Regions from separate parts of the Homo sapiens genome. Here region 1 is linked to region 2. The links are contacts of gene promoters, found by promoter capture Hi-C in blood cells and fetal thymus (Javierre and others, 2016). All regions are on one chromosome and are shown on one strand. The core of a region is centred on a gene start or on the middle of the fragment in contact, and the rest is flanking DNA. Distances in the headings are between cores, read along the strand shown.

Region 1 (4,597 bases), core at 940-3,439, 610 kb after region 2:
CGATAAGTGAGAGAGATATTACCATCTCATTTTACAGATGAGGTAGCTGAGTGAAGACAGTTATGTGATTTATCCAGGGAAGACAACCAAAAAGGGGTAGAAGTAAAACTTAGATCTCCTGATAACAAATCAATCAGTCATTTATTTATTCACTTATTCAACACATATTTTGAGTATCTACATTGTGCCAGGCACTGCTCTAGGTATTTGGAATATAGCAGTAAATGAAACAGACCAAGCCTCATAGAATGTATATGCTAGTTATAAAAGTAATATTTTTAAATTTACCTTTAAGTTTTTACTAAGATGGCATTTACACAGATTAAATTTTATCTCTGGTGTACAGTTCTGCAAGCTTTGACAAATGCGAAGAGCCATATCAAGATATAGAACAGTTCTATAACCCCCAAAACTGCCACAATGTTCCTTCATAGCCAAATTCTTTCCTCAGTCCCAGGTTCTGGTAACCACTGACCTGTTTTCTGTCCCTGTAGCTTTGCCTTTTCCAGAATGTTGTAGAAGTGGAATTGTGCAAAATGCACCTTGTAAGCCTGACTCTTCACTTAGCATAATGCATTTGAGGTTCATCAATTTTGTTGCATGTAACTATGAATATACTACAATTTTTGTTTCTCCATTTACCAGGCGAAGAACATGTGGGTTGTTTCCAGTTATGTAAGTAAAGCTTCTATAAATATTTGCATGCAGATTTTTTTGTGAATATGTTTTCACTGCACTTGGGTAAACATCTAGGAGTGAGATTGCTAGGTCAGATGGTAAGTGTATATTTACTTTTATAAGAAAACTGTCAGTTTTCCAAAGTAACTGTACCATTTTTCATTCCCAGATTTCCATTGCTCTGCATCCTAGCCAGCACTTAATTTTGCTAGTGCAATAACTTTTTAAGAGTTATCCTAATAGGTATGTAGTGGCATCTCATTGCAGTTTTAATTTTCATTTTCCTAAGGACCAGTGATGTTGAACATGCACATTTAACATTAATATATCTTCTTTGGTGAAATGTCTATTCGAATTTTTTGCCCATTTATTCATTGAGTTGTTTATTTTCTCGTTATTGAGTTTTAAGAGTTCTTAATATATTCTGGATACAAGCCTTTTAACAGATACGTGATTTGCAAATATCCCAATCTGTGGCTTATTTTATCATCCTCATAATAGTATCTTTCAAAGAAATTCTAAATTTTTATGATGTTCGATTTTTCAATTTTTTATTCTTTTATGAATTGTGCTTTCAATGTCAAATCTAAGAAATCAATCTCAGAAACCTTGTATAGCTCAAGGTCCCAAAGATTTTTTCCTATGTTTTCTTCTAATCATATTTTATTCATTGAGGTTTGACATTTAGGTCTACGATTCATTTTAAGGTAATTTTTGTATACGGTGCAAAATATGGAACAAAGCTCTTTTTCATTCTTTTTGTTCTCTCTCTCTCTCTCCTTCTGTCTCCCTCTCTCTCTCTCTTTCTGGCATATGGCTATCCAATTGTTCCAGTTCCGTATGTTGAAAAGATTATCATTCCCCAATTAGTGCCTTTGTACATCTGTTGAAAATTACCTGAACATATCAGCATGGGTCTATTTATGAACTTTATTCCATTGTTCTAAGTGACTAAACTTTGCTAATGAAACACTTTCTCGATTACTGCAGCTTTATACTAAGTCTTAAAGACAACCAGTGTGAGTCTTCCGATTCTGTTTTCTTATGTTGTTTTGGCTATTCCAGTTCCTTTCCCTTTCCCTTTAAATCTTAGAATCAGTTTGCCCATTAATATAAAACAGACCATTAAAGAAAAAGACCATTAGAATTTTTATTAGGATGTTGTTGCATTTCTAATAATTGGGGGAAATTGACAACTTAATTATATTAAGTCTTCTAGTCCATGAACAAGGATGACTCTTCATTTATTCAGTTTTTTTCTTTGGTTTCTCACATCAGTGCTTTGTAGTTTTCAGTACATATATATTGCATATGTTTCTAAGAATTATACCTAAATACTTTATGGTTTGGATGTTATTATACATAGTACTTTTAATTTCCAATTGTTTATTGATCGTATATGGAAATATTATTAATTCTTTTGTATGCTGACCTTATGTACTGTGACTTAAATAAACTCGCTTATTAGTTCTAGCAGTTTTTGCATGTGTTTATTACATTTCTTTGTTATTTTCTACATTGACAATTATGTCACCTGCAAATAAAGAGAGTTTTACCTCTTCCTTTCTAACCTATAGTCTCATTGCACTGACTAGGATCTCCACTATGATGCTGAGTATGAGCAAGGAAATTTATGTTCCCAATCTTTTTTATTTTATTTTATTTTATTTTATTTTATTTATTTATTTATTTTTGAGACAGGGTCTCACTCTGTTTCCCAGGCTGGAGTGTAGTGGTGCAATCATGGCTCACTGTAGCCTTGGCCCCTCTGGGGCTCAAGCGATCCTCCCACATCAGCCTCCTGAGTAGCTACAGGCACATGCCACCACACCTGACTAATCCATTTATTTTTTGTAGAGGCAGGGTCTTGCTGTGTTACCCAGGCTGGTCTCAAACTCCTGACCTCAAGTGATCTCCTGCCTCAGCCTCCCAAAATGCTGACTACACGCGTAAGCCATTGCACCTGGTCCATGCTCCTAATTTTAGAGGTAAACCATTCAGTCTTTCAACATTAGATAAGATGCTAGCTATAGGAATTTTGTCGATGCCCATTATCAGGTTGAGAAAGTTCCCTTTAATTTCTATTTAGCTAAGAGATTCTGTTACTACAAATGGATGTTGACATTTATCAAATGCCTTTTCTGCATCTATCGAGATGATAGTAGAGTTTGTCTTCTTTAGTTTGATATGATGATTTTTTTTTTACTTTAATTTTTAGGGTACATGTGCCCAACGTGCAGGTTTGTTACATATGTATACATGTGCCATGTTGGTGTGCTGCACCCATTAACTCGTCATTTAACATTAGGTATATCTCCTAATGCTATCCCTCCTCCCTCCCCCCACCCCGCAACAGGCCCCGGTGTGTGATGTTCCCCTTCCTGTGTCCATGTGTTCTCATTGTTCAATCTCCACCTATGAGTGAGAACATGTGGTGTTTGGTTTTTTGTCCTTGCGATAGTTTGCTGAGAATGATGGTTTCCAGCTTCATCCATGTTCCTACAAAGGACATGATTTTTTATGGCTGCATAACTCATCATTTTTTATGGCTGCATAGTATTCCATGGTGTCTATGTGCCACATTTTCTTAATCCAGTCTATCATTGTTGGACATTTGGGTTGGTTCCAACCTGCCATTCCCAGGATAGACCCCATTTGTCATAACATATGTTTTTCATACATTGTTCAATGTGGTTTGCTAAAATTTTTTAAGAATTTTTGTATCTATTTTCATGAGGAATATTGGTCTATAGTTTTCTTATAATCTCTGTCTGATTTTAGTATCAGGGTAATGTTGCTCTCAGAATGAGTTGGGAAGTATTCCCTCGTCTTCAGTTTTCTGGAAGAGTTTCTGTATAATTGGTATCATTTCTTCCTTAAATGTTTAGTAAAATTCACCAGTGAAGCCATCTGGGCCTAGAGTTTTCTTTGTGAGAAAGTTTTTAATTACACATTTAACTTATTTATTAGATATAAGGCTATTCAGGTTAGCTGTTTCTTTTTCAGTAAGCTTTACTAGTTAGTGTCTTTCATGGAATTTGTTCATGTCATCTAAATTGTTGAAATTACCAGCCTAAAGTTATTCACAATATTCCCTCATTATCCTTTTAATCTGCAGACTGTGATTTTTCTTCTCTCATTCCTGATATTGGAAATTTGTATCATCTCTCTCTCTATCTAAATGTTTTTCAATTTTATGGATCTTCTCCAAGAACCACATTCTGCCTTAATTGGTTTTCTATTATTTTTCTGTTTCCTATTTCACTGATTTATTCTGTTATCTTTATTATCTCTTTTCTTCTTACTTTTGACAAAATTTGCTCATATTTATTTCTGGTTTTTATGACAGGAGCTTAGTTCATTGATTTAAGACTTTTCTTCTTTTCTAATATAGACATTTTAGTGCTATAAATTTTCCTCTAAGTATTGCTGTAGCTGCAACTCACAAATTTTGATATGTTCATTTTTTCATTTTTATTCAGTCAAAATACTTTCTAATTTCCTCTTTCATTTGTTCTTTGGCCCATAAGTCATTTTTAGGTGTGTTTTGGTTTCCAAATATTTTAGCTTCCACATTCCCTTCTATTGTTTCTAATATAATTTCATTGTGATCAGAGAATATACTTTGTAGGATTTGAATAATTTTAATTTATTGATACTTGTTTTATGGTTCAGAATTTTTCTTGATAAATCTTCCATGTGCACTTGAAAGGAAGTATATTCCACTGTTGTTGAGTGGAGTGTTCTATAAATATCAATTAAGTCAAATTAGTTGATAGTGTTCTTCATGCTTCTATATAATTACTGATTTTCCATCTCTGTTTTATCAATTACTGAGAAATGGATTTTAAAATCTCTGATGATAATTGACTATTTCTTCTTGAAGTTTTATCAGTTTTTCTTAGAATTGTAATGTCCT
Region 2 (3,972 bases), core at 1-2,500:
TGCATGGTTCCTGGGGTGGAGGCTGGCAAGGTTGTTTCACCTGCTGCTGCTGAGGCTGAGGGGGTGGGGTGCAAGGCTGCTTCTGCTGCTGAGAATTCATGCTTCAAATGTGTTTTTTTCTAGAGACAGAAAGCTGACACAGTGATTCAATTAAAGAAAGATGGATACAAATTCAATGCCAAACAGATTTTATTTCAGGACCCTTTAGAAGAGAAAGCCTTTCATCTCCCTTAACTCCCCCATTACATTTAAAAATGAAATAAGCTTGGATAATTTTCAGGCCCTTTGAAGAGGAGGAGCTAAAAGGCAATTTCTTCTGCTCCATTTTATTGGAGTTCTCTTCTTGGCTCCCTTCCTACCCAAGGCAACTTATATCTGTTCTGGAAAAATGCCCTACTAAAGCTGGCTTCTGAGGGACATGAGGTCCGCATATTAGGTCTTTTGGAAAATGGCATCAGACCACTTTCCTCTCCTAGTACCATGTAGAAAGCCTGTGACTTATAGGATGGCTTTATATTCATCTAAGCCTCTATGGTTTTGCTTCTGGTCTGTGCTTACACAGTCCCTTCCAAATGCTTTTCTTCCCATCTCTGCTTGTCCAAATACCCCTCCATCATAGCTCACATCACTTGACACCCCTAGGAGGGTCTCCTTGAGCAAGGTCTCCCAAAAGTGCACAGCCCTTCTCTGCCCATCTCCGTCATGCCAATTACTATCTACTTTGCATTTCATTTATTTATATATATGTATTACCTTCCTGCTAGGTTTTATGTTTGTTAAGTAAGTACGTTAGGCATTGATTTGTCCAAAGTGCCTAGCATACTGCCTTAAATGGAATAAATGCTCAGTAGAGATCCATCTAATAAATTAAAATTTCTATAAATATCTTGTCAGGGGGAAATTGCAGTGTTACTGAGAGTGCTCTGGGCCTGAGTTCTAGTTCTGCTATGAACTTCCCATGGGCATTTGAACAATCTTCTCCAGGACTCCCAGTTCAATGACTATCTACTGAGGTGGGAGCCCTAACCATCTCTAAGGTCCTTTCAAATCCAGACTGTAATTTAACTTAAAATAAAGATATTCCACTATTCTCTATCTCCCATTGAAACCCTGGATTAACCTGCTTACACATATTTGCCTTTAGCTAATTTCTAATAATGAAAAAGTACACTAGAATTGCCAGTTTGTTGCAATCAGAGACTTACCTGGTATACGGAGCAGAATGGGCTGTGTGGTCCCTTGGGTTTGGTGTGAAGGCAATGGCCAGCTGGCTTTTATAAGATGAATGAGCCCTGCCTCAAGGAAATAGAAGCTCTCGGGCACTCTGTTTTCATTCCTCACCTGTCACACATGACTCACACTACCATCCTCATCACCGGTTGGCTCAGCTTTTTTGATGAACACCACCTGATATTTTTTGGCACTGGCTGGCTGAAAATGATGTCACTGGCCTAATTTTCACTGCCACCCTCATCCTCAGACCCAGGTGCAGGGCTTGCCTTGAGGGAGGGGTGAGCAGCAGGCTTCATGGAGGGTTTCATGAGTTAACCCTGGGGGGACATCTGAGTCCTGTTGAGGCCTTGCCACCTGCTGTCCTTGTCATTGAGATGGTTGTTCCCCGTGTTCTGTGGGACAGGGCACTCTTGCACACATGAATAGGTGGGAAAGGGAGGGGGAGCAGAGGAGCTGAGGTGGGCCCTCCTTGTCTGCCTTGGTGAAGGTGGAAGCTAGAAATAATGAAATGGACTGATTATAGACCCCTTGTCTCAGAGTCCAAGACCCTTCCATCCATTTCCCCCATCTTTTTCCCAATTCCATTAAACTACACACATTCAGAATAATTTACTTATGACTCTCCCACTCTCACCTTCCTCCCCCTGACTGGTTGCTAATCTGGGAAAACCTGCTTTCCTTCACCAACCACACCTTTACCCTTCTCCTACTTCAGGGACTTTCAGGGGCTAATCCTTCTTCTGGGATCACTTTTTCCCTTCACTCCACCCAGACATCTGGCCCTGGCCTTTTCCTCCTTTCTGATCAGGCTAGACTGCCCCCCACCTGAAAACCCAAAAGCCTTTTCTACCTGCCTCCCTGCAGCCCATCCATGGGGTCCTCAATGCTGAATCCTTCTCCACTTTTGCCCACTGCCAGCTCCAGCCCCAATACCTAGAGATCCTGCTGGCTGCAAGGTTTTCCTCCTCCTTCTGGGTCTGTATCTCCTGGGGGCTTTCCGAGGGTCAGAGCTGTTCCTGCTTAAAGCAACGGTGTCCCCACCACAGTGTTTATTTCCTCATTTATTCAACAAATCTCAGTGGGGAGCCTAACATATGCCCATCATGCCTGTCATTCTAGGAGCTCTCTGATGAGGAAGCCCACTTTTCCTCTACAGATCATGAACTCCCCAGGGTAAGAGACAGAGCACAGTTGAGAGCCACTGAGATTATGGATCTCAGAGAGCCTTTAGTTCACACTCCTCAAGGGATGATTGGGGAATCTGAGGCCACCAGAGGTGAAATAACTCACCAAGGTCAAAAAAACAAACCCTAGGAAGAAAAGAATTTTACACAGAAATCCTGTGTTCTCCTTTGTTTTAATTCCTTGTGACTCCCTAATGTCTATGGAGGAAATTAAGCCCAGGCAGAAAATTGATTAGAGGTGGAAAGGGGAGCCCTTCCTGACTGAGAGCTGGGTCACTTGTAGTTCTGGAAAGTTTTAGGAGTGACAGCGTGAGGACACAGAAAGAGCCTTGCCTTGTGGGTAAGCCTTAATCGGTGCTAAGATAAATCCCTTTAAGTAGAAATAAAGATGCTTAATATTTGAGTGGCTCTAAACAGTGGGTGTTTCTAGCTCTGCTAAAGTAAGAAGGGCATGAATTAGAATAGGTGGAAATAAGGTTCAGTTTATCATTACTCAGGGCACCAGGGTCGGAGAAAGGAAGGGAAAAGCCAAAACTAAAATGTCTGCTTCTATCCTGAGTTGCTTTCGCTCTAGGGGAGCTCTCAGAGTGACATCGTGACACAGCTGAGGTGAAGGCACTGGGGGAGGCAGTAGGTGATAAGCCCCTGAGCACCTGCACATGCTTGCCTTCACTCCACGATGGTCAGATTCTGCCCTGCCAAGGAACTTCTCTTTCCTGGGGACACAAGAACAGGGGTTCCCTCAATCTTTCCATAGGCAATTGCCATAAAACTGAGGTCTCTGATTCAGAGCTGCACTCAAAACACAAACTGTTACTAGGTGTGGCCTTTGGAAAATCCAAATCATCCTTAAAACTCAGGTGTTCAGATGGTTCCTCCTCCTCATCTAACCCCTCCTTTACCCAAACACACACCTAAATGTTTGTGGAGCACCTGCTGGCTCCACAGCCAGTGAACCTGAGGCCAAGGTCAGCCTCCCACTGTGTCCATGCAGCCATTGGTCCCTATCCATCTCCATCCTCACACAGTGCCTGGCGTGCAGAAGCTGCTTGGTGACTGGCATTTATAGACCGACTGCCTGGCTGGCTGGCTGGCTGGCTGACTGAATGAATGAATGACTGAATGGCGTTATTTGTAAAGACAGGCTGAGAGTCTACTTTGAAACCTGCCTAGAAGCTCCGGTACACAGTGTACCTGCTGCCCTCCCCACCCACCTGCCTCACTGTCAAACAGTTTAATGCCCCACCTTGCTCCGGGCTGGTGCCAGCCCCACCAGGACACCTGAGCTCCAAGACTCTTGCCTCACTTAGCTCTCCTCTAGGTTTGTGCCCAGGTCCCCTTCTTCACCAAGTCCCCACCCAGGAGCCCTGACAGCAGGGGCTGCTGGAACCTGTTGCTATGTCTGGTAGGATTCTCAGCCCTGCAGGAACCTGCTGCCTAGTTGTCTGTCCTCTGGTGTCACCCAGCTTGTCTCAGGCCCTGGATGATCTGAAGCCACCTCTGAAGCTGGTGTGTTCTCATGCCCTCCCTGGACCTTAGCCCTGGATGCAAAGGA

The links. Contacts are between HindIII fragments. The CHiCAGO score rates a contact against its expected background, and 5 or more counts as called.
Region 1: a fragment that was not itself captured here is called in contact with the fragment with the promoter of SPRR1A in region 2 in 1 of 17 cell types (M1 macrophages); the score reaches 5.6 in M1 macrophages.

Annotation. Positions count from the first base shown.
Region 1 is chr1:152,369,007-152,373,603 of GRCh38, reverse strand. No RefSeq gene overlaps it. Among named protein-coding and RNA genes, the nearest start is that of FLG2, 11 kb to the right of the region's middle. The HindIII fragment of the contact is 3,003 bases long and covers 688-3,690 here.
Region 2 is chr1:152,981,359-152,985,330 of GRCh38, reverse strand. It overlaps SPRR1A (small proline rich protein 1A), which reads right to left and starts at 1,250. Exons shown (of 2, transcript NM_005987.4): 1 at 1,206-1,250; 2 at 1-119. The coding sequence starts at 100. The HindIII fragment of the contact is 3,855 bases long and covers 267-3,972 here.